Linked DNA regions of Homo sapiens: all the other regions are linked to region 2. Evidence: promoter capture Hi-C in 16 types of primary human blood cells and fetal thymus (Javierre and others, 2016). All regions are on one chromosome and are shown on one strand. The core of a region is centred on a gene start or on the middle of the fragment in contact, and the rest is flanking DNA. Distances in the headings are between cores, read along the strand shown. Region 1 holds the start of B4GALT4 (beta-1,4-galactosyltransferase 4). Region 2 holds the start of RABL3 (RAB, member of RAS oncogene family like 3). Region 3 holds the start of TIMMDC1 (translocase of inner mitochondrial membrane domain containing 1). Region 4 overlaps COX17 (cytochrome c oxidase copper chaperone COX17).

What was found. Contacts are between HindIII fragments. The CHiCAGO score rates a contact against its expected background, and 5 or more counts as called.
Region 1: a contact is called between the fragment with the promoter of B4GALT4 here and the fragment with the promoter of RABL3 in region 2, in 1 of 17 cell types (monocytes). The highest score is 6.5, in monocytes.
Region 3: a contact is called between the fragment with the promoter of TIMMDC1 here and the fragment with the promoter of RABL3 in region 2, in 5 of 17 cell types (neutrophils, non-activated CD4 T cells, total B cells and 2 more). The highest score is 9.7, in neutrophils.
Region 4: a fragment that was not itself captured here is called in contact with the fragment with the promoter of RABL3 in region 2 in 1 of 17 cell types (total B cells); the score reaches 5.1 in total B cells.

The regions. Positions count from the first base shown.
Region 1 is chr3:119,239,628-119,244,027 of GRCh38, forward strand. It overlaps B4GALT4 (beta-1,4-galactosyltransferase 4), which reads right to left and starts at 1,251. Exons shown (of 8, transcript NM_003778.4): 1 at 1,223-1,251. All of the region lies in intron 3 of B4GALT4-AS1 (B4GALT4 antisense RNA 1), which reads left to right. RefSeq lists silencers at 938-1,417, 2,068-2,117. The HindIII fragment of the contact is 11,429 bases long and covers 1-1,953 here.
Region 2 is chr3:120,740,612-120,745,180 of GRCh38, forward strand. RABL3 (RAB, member of RAS oncogene family like 3) reads right to left here and starts at 1,905. Exons shown (of 8, transcript NM_173825.5): 1 at 1,851-1,905. The coding sequence starts at 1,896. GTF2E1 (general transcription factor IIE subunit 1) reads left to right here and starts at 2,133. Exons shown (of 5, transcript NM_005513.3): 1 at 2,133-2,183. RefSeq lists enhancers at 1,166-1,804, 1,636-1,925, 1,805-2,443, 1,891-2,185, 2,066-2,185. The HindIII fragment of the contact is 8,742 bases long and covers 274-4,569 here.
Region 3 is chr3:119,497,079-119,501,482 of GRCh38, forward strand. It overlaps TIMMDC1 (translocase of inner mitochondrial membrane domain containing 1), which reads left to right and starts at 1,469. Exons shown (of 7, transcript NM_016589.4): 1 at 1,469-1,849; 2 at 3,617-3,782. The coding sequence starts at 1,656. RefSeq lists an enhancer at 1,209-1,258. The HindIII fragment of the contact is 2,873 bases long and covers 1-1,993 here.
Region 4 is chr3:119,672,486-119,677,262 of GRCh38, forward strand. COX17 (cytochrome c oxidase copper chaperone COX17) reads right to left here. Exons shown (of 3, transcript NM_005694.2): 1 at 4,719-4,777; 2 at 2,660-2,748. The coding sequence ends at 2,664. Among named protein-coding and RNA genes, the nearest start is that of COX17, 2.5 kb to the right of the region's middle. The HindIII fragment of the contact is 1,750 bases long and covers 2,653-4,402 here.

The sequences.
Region 1 (4,400 bases), core at 1-2,500, 1.5 Mb before region 2:
TCTATCCACTTCCCCTTAGATTATGTAGTCAAACAGTTCAATCCAGGTCAGTACTTTTTCACAACGTATGTTTTCAATCTGATCAAAGCTATAGGTAGACGAAAGTTATTGCAATTTCATGGGGTTTACAATTTCCATAAAGAACAAACCTGCTCTAGAAGACAAAATTCCAAAAACTTCTGAACTATATCCAATCAAGCATTATCTCCTCTCCCAAGAGAGACCTTCCAGCACTCCCCGCCTGGGTCTCGGGAATAGCCCTCCCTTCTGAATCCCAGTTTCTCAATCCGGACCCTGAATCCTATTCATCCTGATCTCTCCTTGATTTTCTTGCATCTTAAAGGTGTTATTTTCCTTTCTTTAAAAATTTAAAAAAAAAAAAAAAAGCCACAACTCGCCTCCACGCTCAGATTACCATTTTCTTTTTCCTCCTTTTCATCACCAAACGGCTGAGGAGGTCTACCAGTACCCTCACCACCGCCACGTCCCCATCCCTCACCCACTCTGGAACACTTTGCAACAGTGTGCACACCCACCCACTGTTGATAACTACTCTCCTAAGGCTACCAACCCATAGGCCTCTCCTCGATGCAGAGTCCTTTGGACTTTGTCTGTTTTTTTTCAAACCAAGAATTAACAGCCCTTATCTAATGGAAGACAGAACATCAAGGGATACAGATCAACAAACACTGGATGGCTGTCTCCGAAGTCTTTTATAATCCAGGTGACCAACCCCTTTGGAGAAAGGTCAAAGGTCGCCGGCCCCTCGCAGGACTGGGGCTGGTGTCAGCTGATCAGTTTCCCCGTTGAAACGCTGGAGAAGGAGGGTTTCCAGGAAGAAGGGGCTTTTTCAGGTTGATGCACCCGGCGGAGAAGTGCTGGGGGCGACCCCGGAATCGTGACCTGGGGTATGAATGAGCCCTGGATTTTTTCCTACCCGGCAGCACCTCGTCTGGCTCCCCCGGCCCGCAGCAGAGGCGGCGCCGCGCGGAACGCCAGCACCTGAGCCGGTGCCTCCCGCCAGGCTCGGCCTCCGTAGGCCCCCGGCCCGGCCCACCGCTCCGGCTGAGGCGGGACTGCCCCACGGACGCCGCCACGTCATCCCCACGCCCGCCCCGCTACAGCCCTGGGACTGACCCCGGCCGTCGCCCGGCTACCCTCGCACGGCGCCCGTGTCCAGGGAACTGCATTTCCCGGGCGCCGGCGGAGCCAGCGTACTCACCCCGGAGGCGGCCGCGGCGAGCTAGCACTGCCCGCGGAGAGGGGAGAACGCGGAAAGCAGCTCGGGGACCGCCCCAGCCGCCCGGGAGGCGGCTCTTGAGTACGAGCTCCGCCTCCCGCCTTGGCCGGAGAGGCTGGTCCGCCCGGCTCTGCACGCGCCTGGCGCTCCACCCCCGCCAAATCGACCACACCGGGCGCTGGAAGGAGCACCGGGAGGGAAACGGAGGGTTGACGCCTCGGCCTCTGGGTGGCTTTAAAACCCTGTGCCAATAGTAGACTGGGTGCTGAGCGCTTCCCAAATTCCATCCCCTTAAATACTCACAAAGCAGTAGGAAAGAGATAGGGACCCTTCCATTTTACAGAGTGGGAAACTGAGACTTTAGAGAGGCTAATAAACTTAATCACCCTGCGAGATTTCAGCCCTCTCAACTGCAAAAATGATAATAATAATAATAATATTTTTCCCATGTTGCAGGTCTGAGAATATTAAATGATTTTTTTAAATCCGTATTTCTTCAAAGATATTATTACAGAAAGCAAAGACAATTATATTTACACTAAAGATTTGAGTGAAAAATTATGGTAGGCTCTGTTTAGGCAGTCAGGATAGCTAGATTCTCTAATGCAGTCTCCCACTGCACTCACGGGAAAGTAGTAGATTCTCCAAGAACCACACATCCACTCCACCCAAAAAGGAACAAACCATAGCTAGAGCCAGTGCTGGGCTCATTAAGCTTCATAGCAGGAAATCTGAGGCTATACTGAGGCCGCATAGGCCCAATGTAGGCCCTTGGAAGCTGGAAAAGAGGGCCACCTAGTGGCAGTTGAGGATAGGTCAGTGAAATAGGTCAACACTGCTCCTGAACAAGGTCCAGTGTGAAACTTATTTTTTTGTGTTCCCTTTGTAACATGCTGTAAGGGTGTATAACCACATTTAGTGAAAAAGGACATTACTGGATTTCATCCAGTGGCGTTATACAATCAGTTACTTATACCCACATAGTCCCCAGGTCTTGAGCATATGATGCCTGGAAGCATAATATATACCTTTTGCAAGAATCACTCAGCTTTTCCCCTCCCCCTCCCCCTCTCTGTCTCCCTCCCCATCTCCCTCCCCCCTTTGCACGGTCCTCGTCTCCCCTTTGCATGGTCTCCCTCTGATGCCGAGCCGAGGCTGGACTGTACTGCCGCCATCTCGGCTCACGGCAGCCTCCCTGCCTGATTCCCCTGCCTCAGCCTGCCGAGTGCCTGGGATTGCAGGCGCGCACCGCCACACCTGACTGGTTTTCGTATTTTTTGGTGGAGACGGGGTTTCGCCGAGTTGGCCGGGCTGGTCTCCAGCTCCTGACCGCGAGTGGTCTGCCAGCCTCGGCCTCCCGAGGTGCCGGGATTGCAGACGGAGTCTCGCTCACTCAGTGCTCAATGTTGCCCAGGCTGGAGTGCAGTGGCTTGATCTCGGATCGCTACAACCTCCACCTCCCAGCCGCCTGCCTTGGCCTCCCAAAGTGCCGAGATTGCAGCCTCTGCCCTGCTGCCACGCCGTATAGGAAGTGAGGAGCGTCTCTGCCTGGCCGCCCATCATCTGGGATGTGGGGAGCCCCTCTGCCCAGCCGCCCAGTCTGGAAAGTGAGGAGCGCTTCTTCCCGGCCGCCACCCCGTCTAGGAAGTGAGGAGCGTCTCTGCCTGGCCGCCCATCATCTGGGATGTGGGGAGCGCCTCTGCCCCACCACCCCGTCTGAGAGGTGAAGAATGCCTCTGCCCGGCGGCGACCCGTCTAGGAACTGAGGAGTGTCTCTGCCCCGCCGCCACCCCGTCTGGGAGGTGAGGAGCGTCTCTGACTGGCCGCCCTGTCTGAGAAGTGAGGAGCCCCTCCGCCGGGCAGCTGCCTGGTCCGGGAGGTGGGGGGCAGCCGCCCAGCCAGCCGCCCCGCCCGGGAGGTGGGGGGGCAGCCCCCGCCTGGCCAGCCGCCCCGCCCGGCAAGTGGGGGGCAGCCCCCGCCCGGCCAGCCGCCCCGTCCGGGAGGTGGGGGGCGCCTCTGCCCAGCCGCCGCCCCGTCTGGGAGGTGGGGGCCCCTCTGCCCGGCCGCCGCCCCGTCTGGGAGGTGGGGGGCCCCTCTGCCCGGCAGCCCCGTCTGGGAAGTGAGGAGCCCCTCTGCCCGGCCACCACCCTGTCTGGGAGGTGTACCCAACAGCTCATTGAGAACGGGCCATGATGACGATGGCGGTTTTGTCCAATAGAAAAGGGGGAAATGTGGGGAAAAGAAAGAGAGATCAGATTGTTATTGTGTCTGTGTAGAAAGAAGTTGACATAGGAGACTCCATTTTGTTCTGTACTAGGAAAAATTCTTCTGCCTTGGGATGCTGTTAATCTATAACCTTACCCCCAACCCCCTGCTCTCTGAAACATGTGCTGTGTCCACTAAGGGTTAAATGGATTAAGGGCAGTGCAAGATGTGCTTTGTTAAACAGATGCTTGAAGGCAGCGTGCTCGCTAAGAGTCATCACCACTCCCTAATCTCAACTACCCAGGGACACAAACACTGCGGAAGGCGGCAGGGCCCTCTGCCTAGGAAAACCAGAGACCTTTGTTCACATGTTTATCTGCTGACCTTCCCTCCACTATTGTCCTATGACCCTGCCAAATCCCCCTCTCCGAGAAACACCCAAGAATGATCAATAAATACTAAAAAAAAAATAAATTTAAAAAAAAAAAAGAGAATGTAGGCCAACAATAAGCCACAGGATAACATCTCTGTCTGCCCAAATCACATTATGCTGAGGAAGTTTAATAATAAAGGAGAATAATAAAGGAGCCAAGCAAGTTAATCTAAAAAAAAAAAAAAAAAAGAATCACTCAGCTTTTCTATATTTGGTAGCTGGTAGGTTATTAATTGGAGAAGTTGGGTTATTGCTTTCAGTAAGTGTAGGAAAGCAAGTAGCAGTGATATCTACAAAATTAAAGATAGCTTTCCAATCTGCTTTTGAGGTTTTAGGGTGGCTTTCATTTCACAGAGAGGCATTGGCATTAATAAAATTGTTTCCTAGGGGTTTTTTTTTTGGCATCAGTCCAGAAACCCAACAGTTGCTCTAGTTTTTCTTGTTAGAGCATGAGCCTTAGCTAAAGCCATCTATAAATTATGGTCCCATGGATTTCCCAGCAGGAAATATGGAAAAAATAGA
Region 2 (4,569 bases), core at 655-3,154:
TGGCCTTTATTTAAAAATAAACTTTCGGGTTTGAAAGAAAGGCTGAGGAAGTGTAAAAAGTGCATTCTAAACTGTCAGACTGTGTACTTTTAAATCGCAGTTAAAAGGAGACTGACAAAATTACCTTTTAAAAAGATAAAAAGACAATAACTAACTTTGCACATAAAGGTTAACATTAGTGAATGTGTGACAACATCAATCACTTTCCTGGCCATCACAGCTGTGTCTTCTGCTTTACAACTAAACCATAACAGGGGAGGCGGGCAGTAGGGAAGCTTATCAATTGCCTGATTACTTTTCCACATTTAATGTAGCTGCTAATTCTATCCCTGTTATATGACGCATTAATTCCACAGTTATAACCCCAGAACCTAATACAGTGCCTGTTGGAAAGAAAATAAATTGACTAGTTGCAACAGTTTGTAATATGAAGGGATTGTTAGATACAATAGAAAATGGAATTATAAAGGACACAAAACACCCACTTAACGTATCATGAAGAAGTCTGTTAGTTCTGGATTGTAAATTCTACTCAGTGATACTCTTGCCAAGTCCCTTTAGGCCACAATTACTTTATCTGTAAAACTGAGTGATTTTATTAAATTAACTTCGGCACCACTTCAAGCTACCTGATAGAAATGAAGTCGACATAAATTGTGATTATGTTCATTAAGTTTCAAAAGGCAACTTTCTTAGGGGAATATTAAATAATGCTCTCTGTAAAATATTTCATAATGCAAATAATCCTCAGGGCAATGTGAAAACATTCTTAACCTATATTTGCTGCCCACAATTTTATTTAGTTTCTATTAAGTTTTCAAGCCTCTCCACCTCCAAGCATCTAGCACAACGTCTTTGCTCACAACACATGCTCTTAGGCCAACTCCAGAGGAGCGCTTCTATAAAATGCAAGGTCAGCATTTATTGAAGTTACTAAGGAGAGCTGAATTGGGGATTATGGAAGAAAAGATAAGGGCAGTGAGGTGGGAGCTGGAAATCCAGACGCCAGCTGTAGTTCTCAAATGTCCCAGGTGTCAAAAGAATTCTTTTTGCATCCACTGAGATTAAAAAAATATATATATATTTAACACTAGGATTAAATTGGGCTCAGCGTTAAATCCTAGCTGCTTCAGAATAAAACTCTTACTTTAATTTCTCTATTGTACAGTCTAGGACATAATAGGTTTTCAATGAAGATCAAACGAGAACCAGGAAATTAAGCTCAGTTAAGAATAAAACAGGACCACTACCCAATATGTCACTGCATAATTATAACTTAGCGTTTAAGTTCGTGGACTCCGCGTTCAAAAGGATTCTGTCATTTACATCTCTCTGCCTCACTACTCTCATCTGTAAAATGGGATAACAGGACTGTCTCAGAATTAAATGAGTTAATACATGCGAAGCGCTTGCCAGTGCACGTTTCTCAGTGCACGTTTCTCAGTGCACGTTTGACTTCCTTAATGAACAAAATCTCTTGAAGGCACGGTCCTACTAACTTCTGTACCCTTAACATAGAACCCCATACAATACTCAATGCCTGCTTTTTTTTTTTTTTTTTTTAATAAAAGAATTGACAATACACTCTAGGCTGGGGTCGCCTGGGAGACCGATGCGGAAAGCCGCGAAGGCAAAAGACCCGGGCTCCGCGACCCCCACCCGCGCGACGACGCCGCCGCCACCGCGTCGTCACACGGAGCAAAGTCCCCTGGGAAGTGTAGTCTTCAGGCCCTGGGAGGGACTTCAGCCACGGGCCGAGGAGCCAGGAAGTTGAGGGAAGGAAGCTAAGGGGAGGGTTACTGGGTAACTCAAAAGTGTCTGGAGCCCCAGAGGTAGGGTAAGCCGCTCACCTGAGTCTCCCAACACCAGTACCTTCACCCGATCCAGGGACGCCATCTTGCCACTGCCTTCCCTGGGTTAACGCCTGTTCCTGGATTGTAAGCCAATCAGAGTTGGGCATGGAGGGCAGAGCCTTCAATTTCATTGGCCACTCGGAGCGTGACTGTCTTGATCGAAGGTTTCACTGAACTCATTGGCTGGTCTGGTAAAAGGTAGCGGGGTGCTTCCCCAGCTGGTCGCAGGAATAGTGCGTTTTCTTTGTCGCGCAAGGGGCGTGGTTCATTTAAGCCGGTAGTTGAAGCGCTGGGGGCAGCTGTAGTGGGAGTGTTCCAGGATTCGCCTTGGTAAACCTTGTTCCCTGTTCCTTGTTCGGAGTTCCCTGGCCGGGCATTGCATTTCATGATTTCTTCTTCCTTTCGCTCCCTCTTAACTATCCTCCCCTAATGAATTACCCTGTTGCCTTGGTCCTCTTGGTCCTCCAAAGAACCATTGACCCCGGAGCGGCCCGTGTGCGACCTCGGGTAGGGCGGGCTTGGCTGCGCCGAGTGTGGCCCTGGACCCAACTGGGAGAGTCCGAGGGAGTTTGGGGTCTCGGAGTCTCGCATTGGGGAGGAGTGCATATCACCGAACGCGTCTCGTGGAGGGCAGCTGGGTCCGGAGGTTTCGCGGTAGTTTGCCGCTGTGTGTGTGAAGGCGTGGAAAGTGCCATGAAATGTGGTAACACAACACCGCAGTTAGATGTGTAGAATCCCAAGTTGTTCTAGAACTGGAGTGGCGATTTACTGAAGTAATCTAACTGGTCTCTTCGCATCCACTTTTCTTGTTTTTTTCTCCACTCTGCAGTCAGTACAATCTTTTAACATCCTGAATTTGATCCACGCACCTCCCGCTTAAAACTGTTTTAAATTTAAGAAGAGAGTGCCCAGTAGCCTGTCCGATTCTACCTTGGAAACAAGAGTGGAGGAAGTGAAGCAGGGGGAAGCTGGCAAGATGAGCCATGTTGGAACAAAACGTGCCTAGGAGACATATGGAAAGTTTTATGGAAGTACTTGTCTGGCTATGCTAGATGCTGGAAATTAATTGGTGAACAAGATGAAGTCTGGTCTTAGAGATAGACATGGAGAAAGTACAAGAAGGGGGAAAGAGCCATGGAACACGTGAAAGGGGATGATTGTATGCTACTTAATGGGGAGTCTGGGAAGGCCTCCATGAGGAAATATCATTTGAGACTTGAAGGATGATTAGGAGAAGGGGGTTTGGGCTTAGCTGTAGGGGCAGAAGGAACAGCATGTGCAAAGCCTTGGGATGCAGGGAAAGCACATGTGGCTCATGGAATTGAGAATATGCTGGTGTGGCTGGTTATGAGGCTGACAGGGTAGACAGAGGGCAGAGGGTGCCTTCTTTTCAACTTTGTTTCTCTGGCTCCGTGCCTGGTGCACAGTAGTCCTTAAATGTTGATATGATTAAAATACACGTGGGTCTGGGCTGGGGTAGGGAGGTGAGGCTGGGATCTGACTCATGGACTATGGAGATCAAAGGAAGAAACAAAGGTCCTAGGAGGTCCCACGCTCAGAAGTCTCCAGAGACCAGCCATACTCCTTCCCTAATAACGCCAGCTGCTATTCGGCTTCAGCTTATTGTTTCCATGTGGGAACATGGGCTCACTTTTTCCTCAGATATTTCCAATTTTGCAAGAGGAGCTGGAAGTTGAAATTTATGTGAACTCTTACAATTTTTAAATGTTGACAACTAATTCAGAAAATTTTTGAAACATTCTTTGGGTGATACAATGCGTGGGGGGCTGCCAGTTTGAGAACTCTTACCTAAGACCTCTAGAGATTGAGTAAGGAGATTCAGCGTGAGTGGGAAGTGATGGAGGAGAGAAGGTAGTGGTCAGGAAGGAGGATTTTAGAATGCAGAGATTTTGAACAAAGTGGCACAGCTTGATTTCATTCCTGAGCTCTAGTTTCATTTGTTCAGCTACCTGCTGGGCATATTCAGAGGAATATCCTATGGTATTTCCTCAAAGACACTTCTAAAAGTGATTTCCTCATTTCTTCCTGCTCCTCGTCAGGGGTCACCTATTTCTCATGGCAGTACTTTTCCTAGCTACGCTGGCTCAAAACAGAGAGCTATTTAAGATTTTTCCTACTCTCATATTCTGTATCCAATATATTTTGTTGGGTCCTTTTGATTTTTTTTTCTGTAATAACTTTCATTCATTCTGTTCTCTTCTTGCAATTTTTTTGCCTTCTTAGTTTAGATTTTATACCCCCAATATTCCACACTGCCTCCACCTTCACTCACTTGAGTCCGTTCCTCATATTGGTATAAGAGTCATTTTTCTAAATAGGGGATTTATTATGAATGCCAGTACTTAATTGAACTCTTATGCCAGCCCTGAAAGCAGAACACTTTGCATTAATTATCTCACTGAGTTCATACATTAACTGTGTGAGCAGGGCACCATTAATCACTTTTTTTTTTTTTGAGGGTCCTGTCCTGTCACCGAGGCTGGTGTGCAGTGGCTCAATCATGGCTCATTGCAGCCTTGACCTCCTGGCTCAATTGATCCACCTCAGCTGGTACTACAGGTGCATGGCACCATACCTGGCTAAGTTTTAAAATTTTTGTAGAGATGGGGTCTTACTATGTTTCCTAGGCTTGTCTTCAACTTCTGGGCTCTGACAGTCCCCCAACCTTGGCCTCCCAAAGTGTTGCAATTACAGG
Region 3 (4,404 bases), core at 219-2,718, 1.2 Mb before region 2:
AGTCCTCCTTCACCCCAGAATAATTCTGGGGTCATCTTATGCATTTAGCTTTTTCTACATATAGGTTAGAAACAGACTGTACAGCCATTTTCTTGGGCTTTCAGGCCTTGGTAACTTATCTTGGTGCCCACTTCTACCTAACATGGGATAAGCAGTAATCCAGAGCCAGAAGTCAGGAGATCTGAATTATTCAACAAATATTTACTGAGCACCTACTGCGGTTCTAGGTCCTGGAGATACAGAGATGAATATATTTGGTCTGTGATCTCAAGGATAGTTTATTGAGACAGATTAATAGGAAATTATGATGCAGTGTTGTAAGTGCTACGATGAGTGCTGAATCAAATCTCATATCCCAGAGTAGTCTTCATGGCGCTGTCACTAATTGAGCTGGTCACTCTAGTCAGTCACTTCTCAGGGACTTATGTGTAGCATTTCCAGCTATCAAATTCCTAAGTCCACTTACTGTATTCTACTACAGTGTGGCAGTTTTGATTGACAACTAGAAAGGAATCAAGGAGGTGAAGGGATTGGCAAAATGAATAAGGGAGTATGCTTGTTAACAAGGATTGAATGAAATTACACGAATATTGAGAATATTTTAAATGCATTCATTTTAATGAAAACTGTACTTCGAAGCATATGTTAGCAGAGGTTGTAGTGACGGCAAATTATACAAACACTTGATAGAAATTCCAGAAATTCTCCTGCCTTTTGAGAAGCAGTAGGCATATGAACTAAAGGGAGTGAAATCCACCTTAGGAAGACCTGCCAAAAAGCTGATTCTTCAAAAAAGTGTTCTCGAAATCTTAGTGTAACTGGCACCAACACCCATCCCCAATGCCTCGTTTTTTTTCCAGCAGAACTGACAAGGTACAAACGGACCCCGCCCAGCCTGGAAGGCTTCTCTAATGTTGGCAGAGTAGGTTGGACTTGTTTTTGCACAAATCGCCTTTCCCTCTTTCCCTACTCCACTTGCACTGAATATTGCACTTTCTTCCTTACTGAAGCGGGATTCCTGCCTTTTTTTTTTTTTTTTGAGACAGATTTTCGCTCTTGTTGCCCAGGCTGCAGTGCAGTGGTGTGATCTCGGCTCACTGCAACCTCCGCCTCCCGGGTTCAAGCGATTCTCCTACCTCAGCCTCCCGAGTAGCTAGGATTACAGGCGCCCGCCACCATGCCCGGCTAATTCCTGGCATTTTAAATACGATAAATTACTTCAACCTATGACCACCTCAAGCTGAATATAAGTAGCCGCAGACACCGTTTGCATGACCCAGGAACCACAAACACGGAGCGAAGGCCTGCCGGGACCACGCTGAGCTTCACTACTGGCAGCCAACTCACTTCCGGGGGTGCACTCAGCACAGCAGTGGCCCAACCCGCCCTCAACCGGAAGTCTTTTGGGCTCCGGCTTCGCCGTCGCCCCGCCCCCTGGCCTTTGCCCCGGTCGGGCGGGACTTCCTGTGTCGTATTTCCAAGGACTCCAAAGCGAGGCCGGGGACTGAAGGTGTGGGTGTCGAGCCCTCTGGCAGAGGGTTAACCTGGGTCAAATGCACGGATTCTCACCTCGTACAGTTACGCTCTCCCGCGGCACGTCCGCGAGGACTTGAAGTCCTGAGCGCTCAAGTTTGTCCGTAGGTCGAGAGAAGGCCATGGAGGTGCCGCCACCGGCACCGCGGAGCTTTCTCTGTAGAGCATTGTGCCTATTTCCCCGAGTCTTTGCTGCCGAAGCTGTGACTGCCGATTCGGAAGTCCTTGAGGAGCGTCAGAAGCGGCTTCCCTACGTCCCAGAGCCCTATTACCCGGAATCTGGATGGGACCGCCTCCGGGAGCTGTTTGGCAAAGAGTAAAAGTGCCTAGGGTGTGAAGTGGGGTAGGGGGCCGCGAAAGCGGTGTCCTGCAGCGTGGGCAGCCTGGGTCAGCCTTAGGACACCAAGGATGGTGTGCTTCATTTTTAGATTATATTTGAGGTTCTGATATTTGTAACCCAAGCTTGTATCTTTTTTCTTTCTTTTTTTTTTTTTTTTTTCCAGACAGGGTCTTGCTCTGTCGCCCAGGCTGGAGTGCTGTGGTGCTATCTCGGCTCACTGCAACCTCTGCCTCTGGGACTCAAGTGATCCTCCCACCTCAGCCTCCCGATTAATTGGGACTACAGGCGCGCACCACCACGCCCGGCTAATTTTTTTTTAATGTATTTTTTATAGACAGGGTTCTTACCATGTTGCCTAGGCTGGTCTTGAACTCTTGGACTTAGGCGATCCGCCTACCTCGGCCTCCCAAAGTGCTGGGATTACAGGCGTGAGCCACCGCGCCAGCCCAAACTCGTATTTTTCTTTCTTTTTTTTTTTTTTTTCGAGACTGAGTCGCGCTCTATCGCCCAGGCTGGAGTGCAGTGGTGCGATCTTGGCTCACTGCACTCTTCACTTCCCAGGTTCAAGCGGTTCTCCTGCCTCAGCCTCCAGAGTAGCTGGGATTACAGTTGCCCACTACCATGCCCAGCTAATTTTTGTATTTTTAGTAGAGACAGGATTTCACCATTCGCCAGGCTGGTCTGGAACTCCTGACCTCACGTGATCTGCCTGTTTCCGCCTCCCAAAGTGCTGGGATTACAGGCCTGAGCCACCGCGGCTGGACTGCGCCCGGCCTAGAAGGGCAATTATTTTATAGTAACTTAATACTTAAGACAGCTATTTGTTAGAGCAGTCTCAGGATGACATCTTGGAAGCTTCATTAGCAGTTCTAGCTTCTTATGCATTTGAGAGTAACAAATCGAATTAAATAGTAGTTTTTCCTTGTTATTTTAGATTGGCATGTGCCACCCACTGCATAGTGAACTTTCCCAGTGCGTTTTTAAAAAAACATTTATTTGTTTATTTTTAGAGCCAGGATCTTTGCTATGTTGCTATGCTGGATTTGAACTCGGGCTCAAGTCCTACCTCAGCCTCCTAAGTTAGCTGTGACTACAGGCGTGTGCTACTGTGCCCAGCCCAGTGCTTTTATTAGTACAGTCCTATCTGAGTATTTCATGAAATTATTTAGTAAAATAGAATTTAGATTTTTTGTCTTACATCCACGTTTTTATTCTTTCATACATTGCCCTAAAATCTCACGAGTTGGTGTGATTTCTAAAAGTTAACTTAAGATTTAAACGGAAATATTGGTCTCTCTATCCAACTCACAAATTCTTCCTATTTCTAGGGGTGTAATAGTCATCAAAAGCACCTTTTAAAAAACTTTTTATTGGAGTAGGAAATGCATTTCGAAAAATGTGCCTAAGTATACTGATGGATGAATTTTCACAAACTGAACATAGCTGTACCCAGCACTAAGAAAGAAATGGCAACTATTGTAACATCCCAAAAGCTCCCCTTGTGCCTTTTCCGGTCATTGTCTTTTCAGGAGTTGCCACTATCCTAATTCTAACACCATAGCTTCGTTTTGTCTGAGACTACGTTCCTTTTAATATAACTGAACTGTTTAATTCATCTGAGAATTCTACCTATGATGAAAAATGTTGTGGTGGTAGCATTTGGGTTAATTCTGATTATAGAGTCTCTTGGAGAGCAATGTCCATAAACTAATCCCAAACAACATTGTCTTTTTGATGTTGTAGTGAACAGCAGAGAATTTCAAAGGACCTTGCTAATATCTGTAAGACGGCAGCTACAGCAGGCATCATTGGCTGGGTGTATGGGGGAATACCAGCTTTTATTCATGCTAAACAACAATACATTGAGCAGAGCCAGGCAGAAATTTATCATAACCGGTTTGATGCTGTGGTATGTACTGGTGATCTAAAGAAATTTGGGGCACACTGACTTAGTAATTCACTTTACACTTAATCATTCAATTAGGTTGTGGGGATGGAGGGTTGTTTTAAGGTGTCAGAGTAAAGAAATAAAGTCTGTACTTAATAACAGTGGAAGTACTAATGTTAAAGTGCCTGCATGTTGTTTGAGAGACTACTTTGTTATCTTCAGAACAGGCATGTTTGGCATCACCACTGTGGCTTTTCTTTCTCAAATACATTTCTTCCAATCCCCTGCTAAATCGTCAAGGCTCAGCTGTAACATATTTACCTCATTCACAAAGCCTCCATGAGTATAGGAGCTCACACTAAAGCAATAGTTAACATTTATAACTTTATAGAGTGCTAACTCGTTTGTTACATCATTAGATCTGTACATCAGTTCTTTTGTGAGAATATTAAAGCTCAGAGAATTTTTAACTTTTTATTTTGAAATTATAGCAGGCTTGAAAGTTGCAAAACTAGTACAAAGATTTCCTATATACCTTTCATCCGGATTCTCCATTGTTAACATTTTACCATGTTTGTTTTATCATTCTCCCTCTGTATAATATGTACTAATTTGTTCTGAGCTACTTGACAGTAGGTTATAG
Region 4 (4,777 bases), core at 2,278-4,777, 1.1 Mb before region 2:
AAGGCAAGTTCAGCACAAGCCTACAGCTTACACAACTGACGAGGGAGTTAGATCATGAACAAGGAAACCATGTACAAATGTTAAGGTTGCATCTTTAAAAATAGTTAATAAAGTACACATACTTTTTAAGAACACACTCCCCTTCAAATTTACTTATTTTATAAAATAGTTCATTATGGGATTTCTTTAAATAACCATCTATTCTAAAAGCAACTTAAGTATATCATTTACACAACAGTAGATATACCATACTATATATAGAATCACAAAATGTATTATGGTTCTCTTTTTATAAATAATAAGTGAAATTCAGAGGAGTAATGTCTTGATGAAGCTAAATGTAGCTAAACTTAAAAACATGATAAACTAAACATCAGGAGAATAAAAACAAAGCCTCAGGACTTTCAGCCTAGACTGTTTTCCATTACACAGTAACTTCTTATCAGCTTGCGACAAGTTCCTTATCCCTCCTTTTTTATAGCTCAGTGAGGAAGACTGGCCATATGTGAAATTCCAAAGAGGCAGGAAAGAGGTGCAAGGGAAAGAAGCCAGGCTCTCTAGTACTAATATATTGGCATATGGCTTTGGCATTCTCTCTCAGCTGTTATTAAGTTAAAAGTGGTAGTGTGGTGTGGAAGTTAGGGTAGGGGCAAAAAGCAGAGGGAATCGGCATGGAGACTGAGGCTCCAGTTCTGATACTGCACAACCCACCTTGGGGGCCATTTCATAACTATAAGCTTTAATTTCCTTATTTATTCATTCATTTAACAATCCTCCATTAAGCACCTACTATGAGCCAGGCACTGTTATAGGTAGTGGGGATATGACAGTAAATGAAATAGAAAATTCCTACTTTCTCAGAGCTTACATTCTAGCTGCCGTGAAGCAACACAGGTAATTAAAAATATATGTATCATGCAGGTGACAGTGTATAGAATAGAGTAGCCACTAGCCACATGTAGCTATTAAAATTTTTACAAACTAAAAATTCAGTACCTCACTCTCACCAGCCACAATTCAAGTGCTCAACAGCCACATATGGCTAGTGGCTACCAGACTGGCAAGTGCAGATACAGAGCATTTCCATCTTCACAGAAAGGTCTTAGGACAGCACCATGATAGAGTGATGGGGAAGGGATGTAATTTACATGGGGTGTTGAGGGAAAGCCTCTCTAATAAGGAGACTTTTGAAAGAGACCTGAGTAAAGAGGGAGTGGGGTGAGGGGGTGAGCTAAGTTGATAACTGAAGAAAGAGCTTCCAAACAAAAGAGTATCATTTGTTTGTGGAATTGTTGGACACATACCACTTAAGGTCCCTTTCAGCACTTAAAATGGGTTAAGAGTTCCAAGTTCTTTTAAAAATGGCCTGAGGCCCACCGCCCTGTCTGGGATGTCAGGAGTGCCACTGCCCGGCTGCCCACTGTCTGGGAAGTGAGGAGTACCTCTGTCCGGCCACCCCGTCTGGGAAGTGAGGTGCCTCTCCGCCTGGCCACCACCCCATCTGGGAAGTGAGGTGCCCCTCTGCCCGGCTGCTGCCCCGTCTGGGAAGTGAGGAGCGCCTCTGCCCAGCTGCTGCCCCGTCTGGGATGTGAGGAGCGCCTCTGCCCAGCTGCCGCCCTGTCTGGGATGTGAGGAGCGCCTCTGCCTGGCCGCCCCACCGTCTGGGAAGTGTGGAGCGTCTCTGCCCAGCTGCCCACTGTCTGGGAAGTGAGGAGTGCCTCGGCCCGGCTTCTGCCCTGTCTGGGAAGTGAAGAGCACCACTGCCCGGCTGCCCCACGTCTGGGAAGTGAGGAGCACCTCTGCCCGGCCGCTGTGCAACCTTCCAAGTGTGAAGTGACAGCCTTGTGTGTGATCTTTTCTGTCTTCCCCAAGTTTGCATTTTTGACATTAAAGTTTACTTTTTAATTAAAAAAAAAATGGCCTGAGGCTTTAGTTTTATTCGAATAAAGCATGCTACAATTCCATTTTCATTTTTCAGAAAGCAATACTTCCGTGGGATACCCACTCCCTACTTAAAAGCATTTCTTGGCCAGGCATAGTGGCTCACACCTCTTAATCCCAGCACTTTGGGAGACCAAGGCAGGAGGATTGCCTGAGTCCAAGAGGTTGAGACCAGCCTGGGCAAGATGGTGAAACCCCATCTCTAAAAAACAACACAAAAAATTAGCCAGGCACGGTGGCCCACACCTGTAGTCCCAGTTACTTAGGAGGCTGAGGGGAGGATCACCTGAACCTCCCAGGTTGAGGCTGCAATGAGCTGTGATTGGGCCACTTCACCCCAGCCTGGGTAACAGAGTGAGACCCTGTCTCAAAAAAAAAAAAAAAAAAGCATTTACTGAAGTCCCACAATATTTATTAGAAACAAGAAAGAGAATATGTTTCTTTTAGTTCCCTCAGTCAATTTTCCTAAAGCCATGGGACCTAAAGGCTTTTGTCAAACCCTTTCTTAAAAGCTCAATTCTCCCCTTCCCCAATCCGCTAAATGACTGTCTTTACTGACATAATTTACTCCCTTCATTGGGAACTGAAAAATCATGGTTTTTTCAAATTGATACTTAAGCATTTTAGATTAACCAGGTGAACTACCTTTCAGAGAGAATGTAGCCCAATTGTTGCTAAATCTGTAAAGCAATACACAACTTTGAAGCAAGAAGCTTACCATTTCATATTTTAAATCCTAGGGCTCTCATGCATTCCTTGTGGGCCTCAATTAGATGTCCACAGTGTTCTTCTCCTTTCTCGATGATACTATAAAACAAAATGTACTTGTTATCTAAATATGCATTAAGCACATTATTAAGTATGCATGATAGTGATGGGGAGTGAGACAAAACACGGGTATAATGGAATGTAGCTGGAATTAAAACAAACGCTATTACCTCAAACAGCTTTGTTTTTATTTGATCTTATGATATGCCCATGCCTATGAAGACATTCCACAGATAAGTGATTTTGGGGGGGAAATCTGATAAGAAATAATCACGCATATTAAATATTGCCTCTAGTCAATATCCAAGGAGTAACACTGCTCTATAAAGAAATAAACTGAGTAAAATATTTATGCTAAATGAAGGGCACAGAGAACAGCTCAATTTTTTGCTTATTATCACAGAGAAATTAACTTTCTGATTTTGCCCTACATTCAAACACAACCAAATAAATCTACTTCTAATTACATCAAAAACATCTGGTAGCCAGGAGACCGAGATAAACACCCCCTCATGATGATCAAAGAATATTTTACTTGTAAAATTCACAAAGTAAAGACTAGGACTACACAGCTTTATTTCTAAGGCCTGAAAATGTGATTTTGCAAATAATCAAGTTAAGCCCAATTCAATTACAAGGAAAAACTGACTCCTGACTATGGATATTTGGGGAGAACCCACGTGGTCTGAGGCAATCGAGGCAAAGGGAATTTAACAAAGGGAATAGGTTCTCCTTCCATGGAAACTCTACCCATCCTTCAATAGCTCAAGAGCTGCCTGCAAATGGGAGATTGCCTGGGATAGTGAGATCATTGTGAAGATAATAGCTAGCATTCATTGATCATTTATTGCCATGTATACTGTGTTAGCCACTTGACATGGCTTGTATCATTAACCTTTACAATAATACTGGAGGGAGTTTCTTTTATTAGAGTCATTTTACAGACACATGAGGCTCAAGGTCACCAAGTTAGTGGATTAAGATTCAAACCTTGACTGTGGATCCCAGACTCTTAATCATGCTGTCATACCATTCAAGGTTCAACAGCACTTACTGTTACCACTGGAACAATTTGTTCAGACTAGTCTTTCAATCCTACCCGTATTATTTACAAAGTACTGAGGATTAATAAAAGCACTGAGCTCCTACACTCTTATTATCCCATTATACCACTAATGATTTCTTTCTTATATCTACTATCTGGGAAGACAAAAGGGGCCAGAGGAAGAGATGCACATTCACGTTATCTGAGGACGTCCTCTAATGAGATTTGCTCCACAAGAGAGGCTATATAAAATGAGAACAAATCTTTTGTGGATTGACAATCTAGATGAACTATTCTTAATACTTTGTCCCCTGCGTCGTAGACTGATTGATTTTCAACTTTTGGTTGTCTTAAAAGGGTTGAAGCGTAACTCTTCAGAACTGTAAGGAATACACTCTGTGTCCTACTGTCTCTAAATTTTGGGAGAAAGCCTTAGAAATTACCAGAAAACCTTTCCTGTTTGGTCTTAACAAATCTATCATAGCCCTTACCACGTCGTATACAAGTCACTGGTTTATGTCTCCATTAACTTTAAGCTCCTTTATATCAAGATGCATCTTTATCCATGTCTACATCTTCGGACCTAACGCAGTGCTTAACCCATAACAGATACTCAACACACATTTGTAGGAAGGAATGAGTGGTTGAAGCTTGCCGTTCTCCTCTCTCTCCATCGTTTCCCGGTACTAAGCTACGGGATAAGTCAACAGAGACCCGACCACGAAACCTACAAGGCCCAATAATTATCTCCAGAGCGCCGCAATGGGGCGGGGCGGGGCGGGGCGGGGGGGGGGGGCAGACAGGGAGGAGGAGTGGGGGAAGGGGGGAAGGAAGAGGGCAGAGGGCAGAAGGCAGAGGGCAGAGGGCAGAAGGCAGAGGGCAGAGGCCGTAGGGCAGAGGCACCGGAAGGCACAGGCCGCGGCCCGGGGCTCGTCGGCCGCGCCCTCTCCGGCTGCGCACTGACCACGCATCGCGCGCCTTCTTGGTCTCCGGGCAAGCGCAGCAGGGCTTCAGCGGCTTCTT